Linked DNA regions of Homo sapiens: region 2 is linked to region 1. Evidence: promoter capture Hi-C in 16 types of primary human blood cells and fetal thymus (Javierre and others, 2016). All regions are on one chromosome and are shown on one strand. The core of a region is centred on a gene start or on the middle of the fragment in contact, and the rest is flanking DNA. Distances in the headings are between cores, read along the strand shown.

What was found. Contacts are between HindIII fragments. The CHiCAGO score rates a contact against its expected background, and 5 or more counts as called.
Region 2: a fragment that was not itself captured here is called in contact with the fragment with the promoter of PCDHGA7 in region 1 in 1 of 17 cell types (total CD8 T cells); the score reaches 5.2 in total CD8 T cells.

The regions. Positions count from the first base shown.
Region 1 is chr5:141,381,300-141,385,717 of GRCh38, forward strand. PCDHGA7 (protocadherin gamma subfamily A, 7) reads left to right here and starts at 1,443. Exons shown (of 4, transcript NM_018920.4): 1 at 1,443-4,024. The coding sequence starts at 1,601. The region is part of intron 1 of PCDHGA1 (protocadherin gamma subfamily A, 1); the gene reads left to right. All of the region lies in intron 1 of PCDHGA2 (protocadherin gamma subfamily A, 2), which reads left to right. All of the region lies in intron 1 of PCDHGA3 (protocadherin gamma subfamily A, 3), which reads left to right. It also overlaps PCDHGB1, PCDHGA4, PCDHGB2, PCDHGA5, PCDHGB3 and PCDHGA6, and 1 more gene. The HindIII fragment of the contact is 6,225 bases long and covers 1-4,418 here.
Region 2 is chr5:141,266,021-141,270,852 of GRCh38, forward strand. LOC105378199 (a long non-coding RNA gene) reads right to left here and starts at 2,738. Exons shown (of 2, transcript XR_001742473.1): 1 at 2,449-2,738. The HindIII fragment of the contact is 184 bases long and covers 1,717-1,900 here.

The sequences.
Region 1 (4,418 bases), core at 193-2,692:
TCATTCTCTTTTATTCTGCAACTATGTGAAAGGAGCTTTCTTTTCTTTCTGCTAGCAGAGGGTAGCCTCGGATCCATCAATAATTTAGTTTTACTCTATCAACATCAGTGGAGAGACGAGTACCTCTAAGGATCCTGTCAGGACAGTCCTGCATTTTGCTCAAATGCTGTCTAGAGATCCCTGTTTTCTCAATTACACTAGAATAGAGTAGGATGAAGATTTGAATTGCATACTAGGATGAAGACTTGAATTGAATTGCATAATGAAAAGAATCAGCCAATCCATTATCCAGTTTCTTATGAATTCACAGCCCAGTAGGATCTCTGCAGATTTCTGCCTTCTGTAGAAAATGGGTTGCTTCTATAGCTGATTGCTGCAGCCAAGACAAACAACGATTTCTTTCTTTTTTTCTCACAAGACTGGGAGTGAGAATATTTGGATTCCGACATTGTTCTACTACTATATAATCAATAATCAGGAACAAGGCAAGGCAATTCCCTCTTTCTTTCTTTCTTTCTTTCTTCTTCTTTTTTTTTTTTTTTTTTTTTTGGCAGAGTTTTGCTCTTGTTGTCCAGGCTGGAGTGCAATGGTGTGATCTCGGCTCACCACAACCTCCACCTCCCGGGTTCAAGCGATTTTCCTGCCTCAGCCTCCTGAGTAGCTGGGATTACAGGCGCGCGCCACCACGCCCGGATAATTTTGTATTTTTAGTAGAGACGGGGTTTCTCCATGTTGGTCAGGCTGGTCTCAAGCTCCCGACCTCAGGTGATCCGCCCGCCTCGGCCTCACAAAGTGTGGGATTACAGGCGTGAGCAACAGCACCTGGCCCCCCCTCTCATTTTTTAAACGGTTAAAATGAAGGTGTTAGACCGTCTCTAAGGTTCTATACAATCAAAAATTTATTAAAATAGGTCTATATATTTTACAACAATTTTGACTTTCTGAATCTTGCATCATGGTGTCTAGAACATATGTGTTCAATTAATACTGAATTAATTAAAATTTATATACACTGATGTAAATATTTTCTAAGTAAAATCTTTCATATGTATTTAAATAAAATTTACCTTTTTGCCTTCAATAACTGATTTTCCCATGTGCAATAACGTGTGAGTCAGTGCCCAAAAGAGTCACTTGAAAGTTGCAAGGCAAAGCAGTTTTTTAAAAATTATCTAAGATTATCAAACACCGGTCCATGAACACTGTTGCATTAATTCAGTGTCTTAAAATGGATTTTTAATTATCAGGGATATCTAGAGCAAAGAAATCTAACAGGGAAATTTTGAAAGATGAAACAATTTTCTATGAAATCAGTGTATTGTGTGCATCAATGTGGTGCAGTAACTTAGTAAGGACTCACAGCGCCGCTGTTCACCAACCAGGGAAAAATGGTGCGAGAGATCCCACAGAAACCACCGAGTTTTACAGCACAGAGAAACGACAGATTGCGATAAGCCCTCTTCCAGGCTGCACTAAACTCAAGCCTCTATCCTGCTGGATTCTGAGCTCCCCTTCCTAAGACAGAGGGGTCCACCCGGATACACCCGCATTCTGAAGCACTTCCCGAGATCGGCGCCTAAGCAAGAGAAGCAGGACGACTATGGCGGCTCAGCCGAGGGGCGGGGACTACAGAGGATTCTTCCTGCTCTCCATCCTCCTGGGGACCCCCTGGGAAGCCTGGGCAGGACGTATTCTCTACTCCGTGTCGGAGGAGACGGACAAAGGGTCCTTTGTGGGAGACATCGCCAAGGACCTGGGGCTGGAGCCCCGGGAGCTGGCGGAGCGCGGAGTCCGCATCATCTCCAGAGGTAGGACGCAGCTTTTCGCCCTGAACCAGCGCAGCGGCAGCTTGGTCACTGCGGGCAGGATAGACCGGGAAGAGATCTGCGCTCAGAGTGCGCGGTGTCTGGTAAACTTTAACATCCTGATGGAAGATAAAATGAATCTTTACCCTATAGACGTGGAAATAATAGATATTAATGACAACGTTCCAAGATTCTTGACGGAAGAAATAAATGTAAAAATAATGGAGAATACAGCTCCTGGGGTTCGGTTTCCGTTAAGCGAGGCTGGGGATCCAGATGTGGGCACGAACTCCCTCCAGAGTTACCAGCTCAGCCCCAATCGCCACTTCTCCCTGGCTGTGCAAAGTGGAGACGATGAAACTAAGTACCCGGAACTGGTGCTGGAGCGGGTGCTGGACCGGGAGGAAGAGCGGGTTCACCACCTGGTCCTCACAGCCTCTGATGGCGGCGACCCGCCCCGATCCAGCACCGCCCACATCCAGGTGACAGTGGTGGATGTGAATGACCACACGCCTGTCTTCTCTCTGCCTCAGTACCAAGTAACTGTCCCCGAGAATGTGCCAGTGGGTACAAGACTGCTCACGGTACATGCTATCGACCTGGACGAGGGAGTCAATGGGGAAGTGACATATTCTTTTCGGAAAATAACTCCTAAACTTCCAAAGATGTTTCATCTGAACTCGCTTACAGGAGAAATATCAACTTTAGAAGGATTAGATTATGAAGAAACTGCCTTCTATGAAATGGAGGTTCAGGCTCAAGATGGTCCTGGTAGTCTGACAAAGGCAAAAGTACTGATCACAGTTTTAGATGTAAATGATAATGCTCCAGAAGTGACTATGACGTCTTTAAGTAGCTCAATCCCTGAAGACACACCTCTTGGGACAGTCATTGCTCTTTTCTACCTACAAGACAGAGATTCTGGAAAGAATGGTGAGGTGACCTGCACCATTCCAGAAAACCTACCTTTTAAATTAGAAAAATCAATAGATAATTATTATAGATTGGTCACAACCAAAAACTTGGACCGGGAAACACTCTCTTTGTATAACATCACACTGAAAGCCACAGATGGTGGAACTCCTCCCTTGTCCAGGGAAACTCACATATTCATGCAGGTGGCAGACACCAACGATAACCCACCCACCTTCCCCCACTCATCCTACTCAGTCTACATCGCTGAGAACAACCCCAGAGGGGCCTCCATTTTCTTAGTGACTGCACAGGACCACGACAGTGAGGATAATGCCCAGATCACTTATTCCTTGGCCGAAGACACCATCCAGGGGGCTCCAGTGTCCTCCTATGTCTCCATAAACTCTGACACTGGAGTCCTGTACGCGCTGCAATCCTTTGATTATGAGCAGTTGAGAGAACTACAACTAAGAGTGACTGCACATGACAGCGGGGACCCGCCTCTCAGCAGCAACATGTCACTGAGCCTGTTCGTGCTGGACCAGAATGACAACCCGCCCGAGATCCTGTACCCGGCCCTCCCCACAGATGGTTCTACTGGCATGGAGCTGGCACCCCGCTCCGCAGAGCCCGGCTACCTGGTGACCAAGGTGGTGGCGGTGGACAAAGATTCAGGCCAGAACGCCTGGCTGTCATACCTCCTGCTTAAGGCCAGCGAGCCAGGACTCTTTGCGGTTGGGCTGTACACGGGCGAGGTGCGCACGGCTCGGGCCCTGCTGGACAGAGATGCCCTCAAGCAGAGCCTCGTGGTGGCCGTCCAGGACCACGGTCAGCCTCCTCTGTCAGCCACCGTCACACTCACCGTGGCTGTGGCTGACAGCATCCCCGAAGTCTTGGCCGACCTGGGCAGCCTTGAGCCCTCCGACGGTCCTTACAACTATGACCTCACGTTGTACCTGGTGGTGGCGGTGGCCACAGTCTCCTGCGTCTTCCTAGCCTTCGTCCTCGTACTGCTGGCGCTCAGGCTGCGGCGCTGGCACAAGTCACGCCTGCTGCAGGCTTCAGAAGGTGGCTTGGCGAACGTGCCCACCTCGCACTTTGTGGGCATGGACGGGGTGCAGGCTTTCCTGCAGACCTATTCCCATGAGGTCTCCCTCACCGCGGACTCTCGGAAGAGTCACCTGATCTTCCCCCAGCCCAACTATGTAGACATGCTCATCAGCCAGGAGAGCTGTGAGAAAAATGATTCTTTGCTAACATCCGTAGATTTTCAGGAATGTAAAGAAAACCTGCCAAGTATTCAGGTGAGCCCAGCCCTTCCTTTATTTCCATGAGGAATTTATTTGCATGATATTTCTCTATTATTTTGCAAAACAAATGTTTTGAAAATAGGGATTTAAAAAACTTTATAGAGGTAAAAATGAGTTTACCAGTTTCCTTCAGTGGTGACACTTTAATATAGAACACATAGGATATAGTATTTCTTTAGTGAAAGCCTATGGACAAGATTATGAATATGTGGACTATCACATTTTATAATTTCCACCTACTTTCCAATCTATGTTCCAACCTACTTTCTTAACTCATATATTTTATACATTGGAATGAATCGAGTCTTTCATATTGCACAAGGTTAGCAGGAATAAAACACACCTCAGCTGTCTTCTCAGGATTCTCTTTAGCATTCAAATATGTAAA
Region 2 (4,832 bases), core at 559-3,058, 110 kb before region 1:
TCCACATGGCTAGGGAGGCCTCAGAATCATGGCAGTAGGTGAAATGCACTTCCTACATGGCAGCGGCAAGAGAAAATGAGAGAGATGCAAAAGTGGAAATCCCTGATAAAACCATCAGATCTCATGAGACTTATTCACTACGACCAGAACAGTAGGAGGGAAACTGCCCTCATGATTCAATTATCTCCCACCAGGTCCCTCCCACAACACGTGGGAATTATGGGAGTACAATTCAAGATGAGATTTGAGTGGGGACACAGCCAAACCATATCACAAGAGAAGCTGCTGTAAGCTTGCTAAAAAGTTTTCATTGAACTGCAGGTAAACTCTGAGGTGGGCCAAGGGAATATAGGACAGGCATCAATAGCATCTGCTATACTGCTGCATTTGGTTGTACAAGCAAAGGGTTGAGAAGTAGCTGTGGAAGGAAGGTTCAGCATTCCAGTGTCACCAGGAGCAACAGCCAGATTGAGTGTTCCTGTATCTAGGAGCAACTGTGTGGGTATTGAGAGGTGGTAGCAACAGTAGAAGTGGCCTACTAACCCTGGGTCACAGGTGTAGCAAGTTGTTCTTGGAACTCAATAGTTCCTGAGTTCCACTTATCCACACATTCCAATGATGCTATAAAAATCTAATTATCTCTGTTAAATATTTTTCTGCTTAAACTGATTAGAGTTGTTTTTGTTATGTGCCCTGAGCCCCAAAAATATATTTTGTACCAGAATTTGCAGGCAACAAACACCGAAGAATGAAATTTAGGATAGATTATATGACCTAGATAGATCAAAGGCAATGATAGTCCCATATCCTCTAGAAAATAAGATATTGGTAGTCCCTGGTAAGCAACAGCAAAACATTTACTCAGGTTATCACTTGTGTTTGTCTGGAATTAATTGCTTATTGAAGGTAATTCTCTGGTAAGCAAAGTGGCTGGTGTACCAAAGCATTATGGTGGGGAAGAGAAAGGTTCAGGGGATGTGGTGATTACTTTTGACTGCAATCGAGAATTCAATTAAAGAAAATAACGAACTTAGGGTTTTAAAATTCTTGGGTCAGGAAAGATATGAAAATCAAATATTTTAATGATTGCTTTAAAAACATCTCTTTTATCCCACGGCTACAGGACTACATAGATAAAAATCAGACAAAAAGTCTGATTCTTCAGGTTGATAAATAATTACAAAGTTGAATTCACAACCACTGCATGTTTTTTAATGAAATTGCTAGAGCATTGATCCAGAAAGAGTAGTATCCTTAGAATGGGAATGGGGACAGCTAGGTGAATTCAGATGTGATTGTATCTTGAATCCCCAAACCAATTGAGCCCTTTTTTATCCCAGCAGAAGCAAACTCATTTTCCTTTTTAATAAGACTGTCCTCTTTGCATGCATAGTCTGTAATGACCTCAGCTGAGACAGTTACATTGCAAAGGGTTGCTAATTTTCTCCATGCCCTTCATTTGCCAACTCTCATTGCCTCTAGACCTCTAATTAGATTCATATCCTAGCATGTTCAATGGGGACAAGCACAAAGCCAGTCCCAATATTAGAAGGCATATATACTGAAAGAATTGCATAATTTTGCTAACTACATCACAGAAACCTTAGGAATATGTTTGAGAACTGAGTATGCTATAACAGAAAACAAAGAAAAAACCTTTAGATTGAGTTGAATTTAGGTGGGTTCGTTTGCCAGAGATTCTGAATTCAGTGTTCAAGCTTTCACATGATTATCTCTAATAGTTCTTTTGGTCAGCTGACTCAATTCAATGACAGCCACAATTTAACAAAGGAAATTAAGATGCTAATAATGCCTTAGGATAATGTTATCCAGCAAAAGGGACTCACTACCTGATATGCTAGAAGCCAATAATATGACACTGCATTTTTGAGAAAAGAAAAGCTTTATATTGAAAGTCTTTGTTATAGCAACAAACACACAAAGGAAAGAAAATGGATTCCCAAGGAGACAGGAGTAAACGTCAAGTGTCTTCCCATGCTGGCTTTCAGGCAGTAATTTTGTTAGAAATGCTTTACGGGGCTGGGCGTGGTGGCTCACGCCTGTAATCCCAACACTTTGGGAGGCCGAGGCGGGTGGATTACCTAAGGTTAGGAGTTTGAGACCAGCCTGGCCAACATGGTGAAACCCTGCCTCTACTAAAAATACAAAAATTAGCCAGGCGTGGTGGCGTGCGCCTGTAATCCCAGCTACTCAGGAGGCTGAGGCAGGAGAATCACTTGAACCCGGGAGGTGGAGGTTGCAATGGGCGGAGATCACACCACGGCACTCCAGCCTGGGCGATTGAGTAAGACTCCGTCTCAAAAAAAAAAAAAAAAAAAGAAACAAAGGAAGAAAAGAAAAAGAAAAGATTTAGGGGGCAGATTCTGAGAGCGGTGATTAGCGGAAGGAAAGGGGAGGCATGGGAAGTCCTTGGGCATGTGCACTTACCTCTTCATGCCTCCGCAAGGGTCTTTGTGCGAATTCGGGGGAGTTAGTATGAAACCTGTGGTGGAAACTCAGGCTGCGATCTCAGCAAGCTCATTCTGTGCAAACTCCATTTATCTATCTAGGTTACAACCGATTTCAGCCAGTTCATTTCTTTTAAGCAGAGGGAGTCTCAGTGTTTCAGCAAGTTGTTTCTTATCTGCCATTATGAAAACTCAAGAATTTCTGTTAGTTACTGGTTTCTTTAACTCTTTGGGGCACAGTTTCAATAGTGTAGAGGAAAAAAAAACAAAAACAAAAAAAAAAAACAAAGACTCAGGAAAATAAATCTCTATTTTTTTTTCTTTTTTCTTTTTTTTTTTTGAGACGGAGTCTGGCTCTTTCGTTTCGCCCAGGCCGGACTGCAATGGCGCTATCTCGGCTCACTGCAAGCTCCGCCTCCCGGGTTCACGCCATTCTCCTGCCTCAGCCTCCCGAGTAGCTGGGAAAATAAATCTCTATTTTTATTCTTGCCCTAGGTATCACAAATGTTAGGGGTGCTCCTGCTCCTCTGAGAGTCATACAAGGTTCTAATTATCTCACCATCCCATAGGACATCACATTTTTCCAGCACGCTAATGGGATCATGCTGATTGTACCTCTTCAATAGCAAGTAACATGTGCCCTAGATGCCTTCGTAAGACGTATGTATGGCAGAAGAGGAGATAAGTAAGCCCCACAACAATTTAAGGAACTGTCCTCTCTGAAGTTTTGGGGGATTCAGAAATCTAGGGCATGTTAAGATATTTCCAAGAAAGTGAAAAACAAGTTGCTGCTGCCCTTCCTACACTCCCTACCATGAAGAAAAAGGCAAACTTGGTGAGCCTCTTGATTTTGGAGGCAACATGTTATCTTTTGGCATCCTTCTCTGATCTTTTTGCTGAGTCACTGTTAAGGCTGCCAGCTTTAAACTGAACTCCAAATCAAAGAAGGCTCTACAGGTACTCCAGAATGCATTAAGAACAGGAACACCACTTGGGAGTTATGACTCAGCAGATAAAATTATGTTTAACGCTGGGCGCAGTGGCTCATGCCTGTAATCCCAGCACTTTCGGAGGCCGAGGCAGGTGGATCACTTGAGGTCAGGAGTTTGAGAATAGCCTGGCCAACATAGTGAAACCCCATCTCTACTAAAAATAAAAAAAATTAGACAGGTGTGGTGGCACAGGCCTGTAATCCCAGCAACTCGGAAGGCTGAAGCACGAGAATTGCTTGAACCCAGGAGGCAGAGGTTGCAGTGAGCCGGTATCACACCACTGAACTCCAACCTGGGCGACAGAGCAAGACGCTGTCTGAAAAAATAAATTATGTTTAAAGTGTCTACTATAGCAGAATGTTATATGAAGCCCAAGACATTCCCTAACAAGAGAATTACAGCGTGGGCCTCTGGGATTTGGAACATAGTCCTACCTTTTCAGTAAATAACTATTATCCTGTTAAGAAATAGATCATTCTCCAAGCAGTTCCTCATATGATACTTGTTAATTACAAAGATATTGTTATAATATTTATTAATTACAGACGGCAAACAGTAACTTTACAGTGGAGACAAACTCTTTATCAAATAACCAAAGTTAACATCTCCAGTATGAAACATTAACCTGACATATCTCCTGATATGACGACTGCACATCATTTCTGTATTATTCTTGCCAAAAATGTACTACCAAAATTTAGTCATAAGGAAATATCAGACAAACCCAAATTAAGAGACATTTAACCAATAGCTTGCCAGCACTCTTAAAAAGTGTTAAGGTCATAGAAGCTAAAGAAAGACTGGAAAATTGTCCTAGATTGGAAGAAGTTAAGGAGAAGTTAATGACCGATTCCTAGACCGGAAAAAGGACATTAGTGGAACAATTGGCAAAATTTGAATAAAGTCTACAGGTTAGTTAATTGTATCAATGATAATTTCTTACATTGAGGATAAGATGTTAACTTTTGAGGAAGCTGTGAGGGAAGGACAAATGGAAACTCATACTATTTTTAAAAATGTTTTGGGTCTTAAATTATTTTAAAATTTAAAACTTTTTTTAATGTTTTTGGAGCTTCTAGATAGCTGCACATGTGGAGGCTTCTAGAGGGTAGTGCTCCCACAAAGGTCATGGAAGCTCCTCACCCCTTTCCCCATACCTCTATGCATCTCTTCATCTGTATCCTTTGTAATATTCTTCATAACACATTGGTAAAATTTATTTGGCTTTAAATGCTTCAGAGTGGAAGGGCATATTTGGGTCGATGCAGGGCACACAACTCACTATTGAACAATTGCAGATGGCTATATGTGATCCAGGCACATAGGAGTGTTCCTGAGGGAACAGTCAGCCTAGTGAACTAGATAAAAGCCA